Linked DNA regions of Homo sapiens: all the other regions are linked to region 4. The links are contacts of gene promoters, found by promoter capture Hi-C in human tissues and cell types (Jung and others, 2019). All regions are on one chromosome and are shown on one strand. Each heading gives the region's core, a stretch centred on a gene start or on the middle of the fragment in contact. The rest is flanking DNA. Distances are from core to core; before and after follow the strand shown. Region 1 overlaps NFAT5 (nuclear factor of activated T cells 5). Region 2 overlaps NFAT5 (nuclear factor of activated T cells 5). Region 3 overlaps NFAT5 (nuclear factor of activated T cells 5). Region 4 holds the start of PDF (peptide deformylase, mitochondrial).

Region 1 (2,700 bases), core at 160-2,659, 280 kb after region 4:
CCCGGCCATCTGGGCTTCCCCAGACTCCTAGCTCTACCACTTCAACTTAAGAAGCTTAAGAAGACTGCTGGGTGGCCAGGCGCGGTGGCTCACGCCTGTAATCCCAGCACTTTGGGAGGCCGAGGCGGGCGGATCACGAGGTCAGGAGATCGAGTCCATCCTGGCTAACACGGTGAAATCCTGTCTCTACTAAAAATAAGTATATTGAAAATTATCTACCACCATGTGAAATAGTAGTTGTCATTTTAGTCAGGCTGTGGTACAGTGCAATGGCACAATTTCTGCTCACTGCAAGCTCTGCCTCCTGGGTTCACGCCATTCTCCTGCCTCAGCCTCCCAAGTAGCTGGGACTACAGGTGCCTGCCACCACGCCCGGCTAATTTTTTGTTATGTAAATATAATTGTTTTTTCCTCTAGGTTGAAGAATTTAGGTAATCTGGCCAGGTGTGGTGGCTCACGCCTGTAATTCCAGCACTTTAGGAGGCCAAGGCGGGCGGATCACGAGGTCAGGAGATCGAGACCATCCTGGCTAACACGGTGAAAACCCGTCTGTACTAAAAATACAAAAAATTAGCCAGGCGTGGTGGCAGGCATCTGTAGTCGCAGCTACTCGGGAGGCTGAGGCAGGAGAATAGTGTGAACCCAGGAGGCAGAGCTTGCAGTGAGCTAAGATCATGCCACTGCACTCCAGCCTGGGCAACAGAGTGAGACTCCGCCTCAAAAAAAAAAAAAGTATTTAGGTAATCTGCAGAAGAAGGTGGTTCAGGTCTTTGGTTGCTGTTCTTTCCTAGACTCTTCAGAAAAAAATGAATTAACTAGCAATGCTTAAAGAGGTAGTAAATACAAGCCAATCCATTTTCATTCCAGCTGCATTTCATGCTTCAGAGTAATGGCTGTTAGCCAGAATCACTTGTGAAGCTTTATACACATATACATTCTGTGATCTTATTCCCTGTAAACCCCTATTCAGTAGTCGGTCTGTGATGAAATCCCAGGCATCTTCATTCAGGTTAAAAAAAATATACATATGTCTACATGAAATTCTGGTATTCCCTGTTGAAAACCAGTCTTAAGTTAGAGGCATTCTGCAGTTGTACGGAAAGTAAGGGAAACAAAGTTAAAATGGAAAAAATTGAATTAAGAGGCAGAAGTAATGAATTTGATCATTTGTTCATTGCCACTCATTGTAGACACTTATTTTTGATCTCTGTAAACATCAGCTTATATCTCAAAGTATGAGGTCTGAATACTTGCTTGTGGGTGATCATCTTTGTGTAGAATAGAAAAGACAAAGTAGGACCAGGTGCAGTAGCTCACACCTGTAATACCGGCACTTCGAGAGGCCAAGGTGGTAGAATTGCTTGAGCCCAGGAATTCAAGACCAGCCTGGACAACATGGTGAGACCCTGTCTCTACTGAAAAAAAAAAAAAAAAAAAAAAGAAAAAAGAAAATATTAGCTGGACATGGTGGCATGAGCCTGTAGGCCCAGCATACTTGGGACATTGAAGTGTGAGGATCACTTGAGCCTGGGAGGTTGAGGCTGCAATGAGCAATGATTGTGCCACCGCACTCCAATCTGGACAACAGAGTGAGACAAGAAGAGAGAGAGAGAGAGAGACAGATAGAGCGAGTGTCTTGTTGAGTTCTTCAGTGTTGGGTCAAAGAAGGGAAAAAAATTGTGCGTATAAATAGAAAAAAAGAAAACTAACTTTTTAAGGCTTTAAAAATAACTGAAAGTGAAGACCCTGAGATATGAAAAGTGATTTTTGTTAATCAGAAAATTGGTGATTTAGGTGATAATGGGGTGGAAGTTGGAAGATAGGACGTGAGGGGACAGGGTATTTGGATTAAATATAACATAGAAAGATAACATTTTTAGTTCAGGTAGTAGGATATTCTGGTAATGACAGAAAGGAAAACAAGATGGGTTTTTTTTGGTTTTTGTTTGTCTAATATTTTTGTTTTTCATCTCTAAGATTATGGTATAAAAACAGGAATTTATGTTTTAGAATTGTTTGGGTAGAATCACTTAAGGTAGATGATTTGCTTATTCATTCATTTGTTTATTTATTAAGCACATTATTGAAATGCCCATTATGTGCCAGGCATAATAATATAGTAAGTAAAATAGATGGCATTCCTAACCTCAGTGTTACTCTAATTGCATAGACAGGAATGCTGGGGAAAGAATTTATCTTTCAGCCAGCTATTCTCCTGCCTGGGACCCAGCTTTAGCTAGTCTTGGCTCTACAAAGGAAGTTGTAACCTAATTGGAACATAATTTCTTCTCCGTAAAAACTGAGGGTTACACCAAATACTTTCACCACTTCTACCTCTAAAATTCTTGCTTTTAATGTGAATTTTAGATTAATTTAGATTAGATTAATCCCTTAAAACTACATTCATTACATTCATACCATTCTTGCATGGCCCTCTATATATTTCTTCTCTCCTACTACCTTTTTTCCCTCATAGCTCTGGTGTCTTGATACAGTTTTGATTGGCTATTTATGTGCTTTCAGTCAACCTCACTGGACTGAAAGCTTTTTGGGAGCAGACTCGGGTTTCTGTGAACATGTGATTTACTGTGTGTGTACCTATGCACACGAAATGAACAAATGGTGACAAAATTAGTTTTTTCTTATTTTTGAAAATGCTGTTGATCTTGTGAATTTAATATTAGACTGTCTTTCAAGATC
Region 2 (2,700 bases), core at 134-2,633, 300 kb after region 4:
TTTGGCAAAATAAGGAGTTTATTAAGAAGAAGTACAAATCATGAAAAGATTCTTTTGTTTATTTTTTGGATAATCCTATAGTATAGTTATACAGAATTAAAACATAGGTATTAGGAGAACTAAATGAGTTATATCAGAATTTGGGGCTTTTGAAAAGATGTATGGCAGGTTTGGGGTTTTTTAAAATAACAGCTTTATTGAGACATAATTCACCTGCTGTATAATCAAATATTTTTAATCTATGTGCTTACAGTTTTAATCATTAAATTTACTTAATTTATTTAAAATAGAAAGTCATGGACTTTAGTCTTCATTTTAAGAAATCAAGTTACTTTCTTGTTCTATTCTACACTTGTTTTGTTTGGCTTCATTTGGGAATATAACATTGTGTTTATTAGTTTATTTCAAAATATATTTTTCTAAGTGGACTGTTTGAAGTTTCTTTAAAATTTTTAATTCAAATTCTTGAACTAAACAATGAATTAAACTAGGCCGGGTACACTGGCTCACGCCTGTAATCCCAGCACTTTGGGAGGCCGAGGTGGGTGGATCATGAGGTCAGGAGTTCAAGACCAGCCTGGCCAAGATGGTGAAACCCCGTCTCTACTAAAAATACAAAAATTAGCTGGGCATGGTGGCAGGCTTCTGTAATCCCAGCTACTTGGGAGGCTGAAGCAGGAGAATTGCTTGAACTCGGGTGGCAGAGGTTGCAGTGAGCCAAGATCACGCCACTGCACTCCAGCCTGGGCGATAGAGTGAGACTCCATCTCAAAGAAACAAAACAAAACAAAACAAAAATGAATTAAACTATAGGTTTTATAATTCAGCCAGAGAATCTTAATAATGCATTAATAATTCTTTTTTTGCATAGCTTCATAATATTCATATTTTGGTTTCAGTAATTATATATTAATACTCTTTTTAGAAGTAACAGTACACTAATACTTCATAGCAATTGTGCTTTTGTTTTTGTTTTTGTTTTTTGAGATGGAGTCTTGCTCTTTTGCCAGGCTGGAGTGCAGTGGCGTGATCTTGGCTCACTGCAACCTCCACCTCCCGGGTTCCAGCGATTCTCCTGCCTCAGCCTCCCGAGTAACTGGGACTACAGGTGTGTGCCACCACACCCGGCTAACTTCATAGCAGTTTTTAACATGTATAAAGATAATACACAGTCATAAAGTGTGTACAGTGGAAATCTTGGTTGAATATCTCCACTTGTTGGACCACTGTCGGTTTTTAAGTTCATAACTTGATGTGAAGTGATCCATATAATAAATTTTTCTTTTGGAAGAGCTTTGATATATAGTGCTTTGAGTTCTATGCCATGTCACTTAATAAATCTCAAGTATGTAACAAGTATTTTCTACAAAATTTCATTGAGTGCTATTTATACTATAAGAGAGGGCACTAGAGATGCAAATTAATGTCCTATAATCAAATAAGTGCTATATTCTAATTCATTTCATATCTCCTAATCACCTGAATTAAAATCACAGAAATTTCTAAACCATCTATAATAATACACTGTACAAAAACTGAGGTGAAGAAAATATGTTACTCCTCCTGTAGGAGACAGCTTTTAAAAAATGAAAATATATTATCACTTTTAAGTTCCTACTATGTGACAAGAATTGTGTTAGGTAATTTGCATGTCATCATATCACAATCCTTCTAGCCATAAAGTATCTCTCTTTTTTCTTTTACCTAGTTCTTACTCCTTGTCATTGTGCTTGAGGGAATTTGGCATTGTGTGCTATCACTTCGATTAGGGAAACGCAAGATCCTTAACTAGGCAATGTATAGAATATTGAGTTGAAAAGCCATACCTCTTCTCTACAAGTGTCAGGATCTTCGAATGGGAATTTGATTTCTATAATAATAATTTAATAAAAGTGATTTCTAGCAACAAAATTTTTTATCCCATTGAATTTATTATAACTTAATTTACTTACGTTAGAAAGTATTTACAGTTATATAATGAGGATTTTCTTGAGTTGACTAAATTTGAGGAAGAAATTTGCCTTTGATTGCTTTCCTGGGTTAACATATTTCAGAATTTTTGCCACCTAATGTAGTATACTCTTCATGAAATTAAACCAGAAACCCACTAACGAGAAAGGTAATTCACCTACAGATGCTGTGAGCTAAAATGTTGTGAGTTGATCTTGGTTATTCTTTATGGCCATTCCCTTTTTTCCAAGAAAACTAGACCATTTCTAGAAGGAAGTCAGATCCTAGTTACAAACATGTTGCAAGCAGATTTAAAAATCTCTACTCCTCCTTCTATCTTATTATACTGAAATTACATAGTAAATTTAAATACATACACTTATACATATGGATGGTATGTATGTATGGATTTATGCTGAAGTCTGCATTATTAGAGAGCAAACTTGGGCCTATAGCCATTAATTCAGAAACAACTGCTAATTGTTTGACAGTTACAAATTGACATTGCCAAAAAGCAAACTTGGCCTATTATTGCTTTGTTCCTTTAATATTTCTCTTTTTATTGTCCTCTTAATAACACTTTTATAAATATTGTGATTTATTCAGTTTCTAATAAATAAGCATATTTTTATATTACTTGAGTCAACAGAACAGCATTTTGAAACTGTTCACAGATTCTCATTCATAAGCTAAATACTTATAGAAAATAGATACAGTTACTGATTTTATGCATTCTGTACAATTTTGCCT
Region 3 (2,700 bases), core at 51-2,550, 260 kb after region 4:
TCGTCTGAGTACAGACGTTGAGTCCTGAGTATCAGGTGACTAAAAACTCTAGTATTGTAAATAGATTTGTAAATTGACAAATCTTGTTTTAGACAATTTTGCTATGGTATGCAACAAAGTTATTTCCAAATACTTTTAGGTTTGGATATTTAAAGTGCTATTTAAAAAACTGTATTAGTCAAAGTTCAGGATTTTTTGCGTAAATGTGATTTAAAGTATAAGGCAGTTCTAGTTCTTTCTTTGTATTTGTATTGTTAAAATAAGACTCAGTTGAATTTCAGTTTGAAAATACTGGAAAATTGTTATTCATAGCTACTTTGTCTCAGGCTAGATGATTATAAGGAGAAAATTAATTCTAAAGTGGTTTAAACCAAATCATGTTTTAAATTTAGTGTTATATAAATTTCAGGTTGTGTTCTATATCTTTTTTTGGCTTTCCCCTCCCTCAGCCTAACAGTTTAGTTGTTCAGGATAGGGAGATTTGTCCCATGTAATTATTTTTCAGTTTTGCTGAACATATTTTTAAAATGGCTACCTTTCTTGGGTACAGTGTCATGGGATTCCCCGCCCCATCTGGGGTAGAGTGTTGTGGGATTAGAGTGAGATAAGAGACAAAGGAGAATCTTTCAGGTCTTCTAACTCAAATCACTAGAAATTTAGGCACGATCTGGACCTTAATGTGTGAGAGGCTGTATCATTTTATTTCCCAAATTGTATTTTCTTTTTTCTTGAGACTGAGTCTCACTCTGTCGCCCAGGTTGGAGTGCAGTGGCGTAATCTCGGCTCACTGCAACCTTCGTCTCCTGGGTTCAAGCAATTCTCCTGCCTCAGCCTCCCTAGTAGCTGAGATTACAGGTACATGCCACCATGCCTGGCTAATTTTTCTATTTTTAGTAGAGATGGGGTTTTGCCATGTTGACCAGGCTGGTCTCAAACGCCTGACCTCAGGTGATATGCCTGCTTTGGCCTCCCAAAGTGCTGGGATTACAGGCATGAGCCACTGTGCCTGGCCACAAATTGTATTTTCTCTAACTTCTAGTTGGTATGAAAAAAGTATTAAAGAGTCCCCTCCCCACCCCGCCCCAGTTTTCTTACTCCGAGGATGAAGATGAAGTGGAAAGCTTTAGATAGTTGGTTTTTCAGCCTGGCCACCATGGAAAAATTATTTACTGTTTTATGAAACATGCAATTCAGTTAATTTGGAGGAAGCTGTTTAGTAAGGGGAAAAGGACAGGATTTCTAGTTAGGAAACATAATCAAGTATCTGTTTTAAACTTTGCTAGTTTTATTTCTTTTCCTCTTTTTATCCTCATTTCCTTTTTATCTAGCAAGATTATCGTGAAGCTTCTATGAATAATTTTCTACATTATGCTAGTGCCTTTAAACAGTGTTTGAATATGAATCTCTAACTTGCTCTGAATATGTTGAGAAAAAAAGTTGATTTTTCAGGATAAGTAATTCTTTTTGGGTGTTCAAGATATTTTTAACAAAAAATTTTTCAGAAATTGAAAGTTGGCTTGGCACAGTAGCTCACACCTGTAATTTCAGCACTTCATGGGGCCAAGGCAGATGACTTAAGGCCAGGAGTTCAAGACCAGCATGGGCAACATAGCAAGACCCCTTCCTACACAGCCCAGGAGTTTGAGGCTGCAGTGACCTGTGATTGTGCCACTGCATTTCAGCCTGGGTGACAGAATGAGACCCTGTCTTGATTTAAAAAAAAATTACAAAAAGTCTTTCCAAAGCTATAAAAACTTTAAGCTTTATTCTTTCTCTTTTTCCATGATACTTATTGGCTCTTTTAGGTTTAGTGGTAACTCCTACCAATAATTCTTAAAAGGAAAATGATAATTACTTTTTCTTTTTTTTTTTTTTTTTGAGAAGGAATCTCACTCTGTCACCCAGGCTGGAGTGCAGTGGTGTGATCTCGGCTCACTGCAACCTCTGCCTCCTGAGTTCAAGCAATTTTCCTGCCTCAACCTCCCAAGTAGCTGAGATTACGGGCACCCACCACCACGCCTGGATAATTTTTGTATTTTTAGTAGAGACGGGGTTTCACCATGTTGGCCAGGCTGGTCTCGAACTCATGACCTCAAGTGATCCACCCACCTTGGCCTCCCAGAGTGCTGGGATTACAGGCGTGAGCACCATGCTCAATGGTAACTACTTTTTAGGGATGATACATGGTACTTAGTTGTCACTGATTTTTTTTTGTTGTTGTTCAAAAATTATTATAGTATCTAAAATCTTGTGAACATGGGAACAGATTGTGAGGAGAAAAATAAATAAAAGCTTGTGATTATTTCAAATTCTTATGATCTCAAGTCTTGACTAAAATGTGTGCTTTACAGGGATTAAGATTAAAGTGAAGCTGTTTTTTTCCCTCATAATGTTTCTAACTTAAATTTTTAAGGGGCATTAATACTTATGAAATTGATAGTTTTCTCATCTTTTGATTACTCCCCTCAATTCATGCTTCTGAAAAATGCATTCTAGCTAAAAATATAAGAATGCTTATTAATCATAAAATATATTGGTACTTGTTTAGTGTAGAACTAAGGGATTTAGATATATCCTTTAAAGGCAAATAATACATTTGATCATTAAATGGAATAAATTGCTTTCAGAGTAGAGTAGGGTTTATTCTTGGGAGTTTGAAGTTGAGCACAGAGGCATGGATATAAGAATGGATTCACATCT
Region 4 (2,700 bases), core at 57-2,556:
GGCAACAGCAGATGGCAAATGTAGACAGCAGCTCCTCTTCTAACTGGAAAACGTCCCTCATCTCGGTCCATTACCAAGCGTTCAACCTGGTTCCCAACTCTGGTAATTAGGTTATCGAGCTCACTGTAGAGCTGAGATGAGAAATCATCTTTCTACGGTGCGACCCTTCCGAACACTCCTCCCACTTCTGAGGTACCTGTGGGCTCCCAACTCCTAACAGAGGTTCTGCAGCTTGAGACCCCACTTGTTTTTCTGACCATCTTGAACCGACGGGCTTGCTGTGCAGGAACAATCACCCCGACCCCAGCAGAGCCCGCATTCCGCGAGGCATCCTGTGGTACCACGGGGGAATGGCCTAGCCCCCTGGGCTGGGTCAGGCTGGCGGGGGCTAACCCCCACTTCTCCAACTCCACCGTGGCGGATCTAACTGGGGCCGAAGAGCGTGTTTGCCTCAGAGAGCAAGGGAGCAGAAAGCAGACGCCAGGCTGTCAGGTAACAGCGGAACTAGGGGACCTCTCCTCGCCCCTGCGTCCTATCTGAGCGGGCTCTACCCCACAGGAGCTTCTATCCGTCCTGAGGCCTCTCCGCTCCCGCATCCCACTTCGCTCCTGCGGGAGGTCCGGCGTATGAACCGCGACCACTTCTGCGCTCTCGCGGAGTCGGGCAGAAGAGACGCGCGCGCTGCTCCAGCAGCCCCGGTCCCCGCCGCCCGCACCTGAGATCTGCACCGCCTGGAAGCGGGGCACGCAGGCCAGGAAGCCGGCGACGCTCTCGCAGCCCTCGGGAAAGGTGACCAGGCGGCTGTCAAGCACTCGCAGGCTGGGGTTCACGAACACGCGCAGGGGGAAGGGCTCCATTTGGCGGAGCGCGCGCTGGCGGGGCGGGCACTCCCGACACAGCGCCTCGGGGAGCTCCAGCGCCAGCACCTGCCGCGGCACCCCCAGCTGCGGCGCGCTTAGGCCCACGCAGCGCCGCCGCCGCATCACCTGGACCAGCCGTTGCGTCAGCCGCTGCAGCTCGGGCCCGCCTAGCTGCGCCCGCTCCACCGGGGCCGCCACGCCGCGCAGCACCGGGTCCCCGACTTGGCACACGTGCGAGAACGGCGGTTCGGGAGGACCCAGCACCAGACGCCTCAGGTGGCGCCAATAGGAGCGCCGCAGCGCCGGGCCCTCGACGCCGTCCGGGGCGGCCGTGGAGCTGCAAGCCCGGACACCGACGGCTGCCGCCCCGCCCCACGGCACGGCCGCCCACAGTGGCCAAAGACTCAGCGCGCCCCACAGCCGGGCCATGGCGGCCCCCTTAACAGTGACCCGGCCCGCCCCTTCCGGCCGCAGCGCGGGGCACGCCGGGAAGCGCCGTCGGCCAGCACACAGCGAAGCCGCGACTGGATCCCCGCCTTCCTGCTTAGACTGGCAGTGAGCACCGCCCCCTTCCGCTCTCCTCCCGGGAGCGCCTTCCCGCCTCCCGAACCCGCCCCGGACCTTCCAGGGCGAGGCAGTCCTGGCCACCCCGCGCCGGGAACCTCACGCACCGCGTTCTGGAGGCAGGGGACGCCGGCTAGGGCCCCACGCTGGGCGGTTCGGCCTGCGTCTCCGCTCGCCCTCCCTCCGGGCAGGCTGGGCCCGCGGGCTCCAGGCGTGGCTCCTCGGCGGGAGGCTCTGGTGCTGGAGCTGTGAGCTCGGGCCCCAGCGCCTGGTCATCCAGGGTGAAAAGCGTCTCTCTCTTTGGCAGGATAAAGGCGAGGGGCTCCTGAATGGCGCCGATGTTCACATGCCCTAGGTTACCGTACTTGGAGAGCTGAGTGGGAGGAATGCCTAACCCAGACGTGGGGAAAGCAAAATGGAAAACAGTTACTAATAAAACTCAATATAGAAATTTAAGGGAGGCCGGGCGCGGTGGCTCACGCCTGTAATCCCAGCACTTTGGGAGGCCGGGGAGGGGGGGGCGGATCACCTGAGGTCAGGAATTCGAGACCAGCCTGACCCACACGGAGAAATCCCATCTCTCTTAAAAATACAACATTAGCCGGGCTTGGTGGCGCAGGCCTGTAATCCCAGCTACTTGGGAAGGCTAAGGCAGGAGAATCGCTTGAACCTAGGAGGTGGAGATTGCAGTTAGCCGAGATCGCGCCATTGCACTCCAGCCTGGGCCACAAGAGCAAAACTCCGTCTCAAAAAAAAAAAAAAAAAAAAAAAAGGAAATTTAAGGGAAAAAAAACGAGCCATTACTATTTTTTTTTTTGAGACAGTCTCGCTCTGTCGCCCAGGCTGGAGTGCAGTGGCGTGATTGCTGCTCACTGCAACCTCTGCCTCCCAGGTTCAAACAGTTCTCATGCCTCAGCCTCCGTGGTAGCTGGGATTACAGGCGCCCGCCACCATGCCAGGCTAATTTTTGTATTTTTAGTAGAGACGGAGTTACTATGTTGGCCAGGCTGGTCTCAAACTCCCAACCTCAGGTGATCCATCCGCCTCGGCCTCCCAAAGTGCTGGGATTACAGGCATGAGCCACTGCGCCCAGCCATCAATTACTATGTTTTAATACAGCAAAAACCACCTTTGTTACAGGGAATGGGAAGCTATACTGTGAAGCAGAACGTAACGGAACAGCAGTGTAGGGTGCCTGCAGCAGGAACCCAGACCTCAGGCAGCACCAGGGAAAAAGCAGAGGGCAGCCAGGCTTTGCACGTGTGATGCACTGACC

What was found. Contacts are between HindIII fragments. The study calls those that stand out against the background at their distance.
Region 1: a fragment that was not itself captured here is called in contact with the fragment with the promoter of PDF in region 4 in 2 of the 25 tissues and cell types used here (dorsolateral prefrontal cortex and lymphoblastoid cells).
Region 2: a contact is called between a fragment that was not itself captured here and the fragment with the promoter of PDF in region 4, in 1 of the 25 tissues and cell types used here (small bowel).
Region 3: a fragment that was not itself captured here is called in contact with the fragment with the promoter of PDF in region 4 in 1 of the 25 tissues and cell types used here (mesenchymal stem cells).

The regions. Positions count from the first base shown.
Region 1 is chr16:69,608,402-69,611,101 of GRCh38, forward strand. All of the region lies in intron 2 of NFAT5 (nuclear factor of activated T cells 5), which reads left to right. Among named protein-coding and RNA genes, the nearest start is that of NFAT5, 44 kb to the left of the region's middle. The HindIII fragment of the contact is 3,452 bases long and covers 1-2,700 here.
Region 2 is chr16:69,630,661-69,633,360 of GRCh38, forward strand. All of the region lies in intron 3 of NFAT5 (nuclear factor of activated T cells 5), which reads left to right. Among named protein-coding and RNA genes, the nearest start is that of NFAT5, 66 kb to the left of the region's middle. The HindIII fragment of the contact is 7,985 bases long and covers 1-2,700 here.
Region 3 is chr16:69,590,220-69,592,919 of GRCh38, forward strand. All of the region lies in intron 2 of NFAT5 (nuclear factor of activated T cells 5), which reads left to right. Among named protein-coding and RNA genes, the nearest start is that of NFAT5, 26 kb to the left of the region's middle. The HindIII fragment of the contact is 3,275 bases long and covers 1-2,700 here.
Region 4 is chr16:69,329,282-69,331,981 of GRCh38, forward strand. It overlaps PDF (peptide deformylase, mitochondrial), which reads right to left and starts at 1,307. Exons shown (of 2, transcript NM_022341.2): 1 at 716-1,307. The coding sequence starts at 1,289. COG8 (component of oligomeric golgi complex 8) reads right to left here. Exons shown (of 6, transcript NM_032382.5): 5 at 1,532-1,814. The coding sequence ends at 1,558. RefSeq lists enhancers at 673-1,320, 1,969-2,616 and silencers at 945-1,324, 1,355-1,744. The HindIII fragment of the contact is 3,727 bases long and covers 1-2,001 here.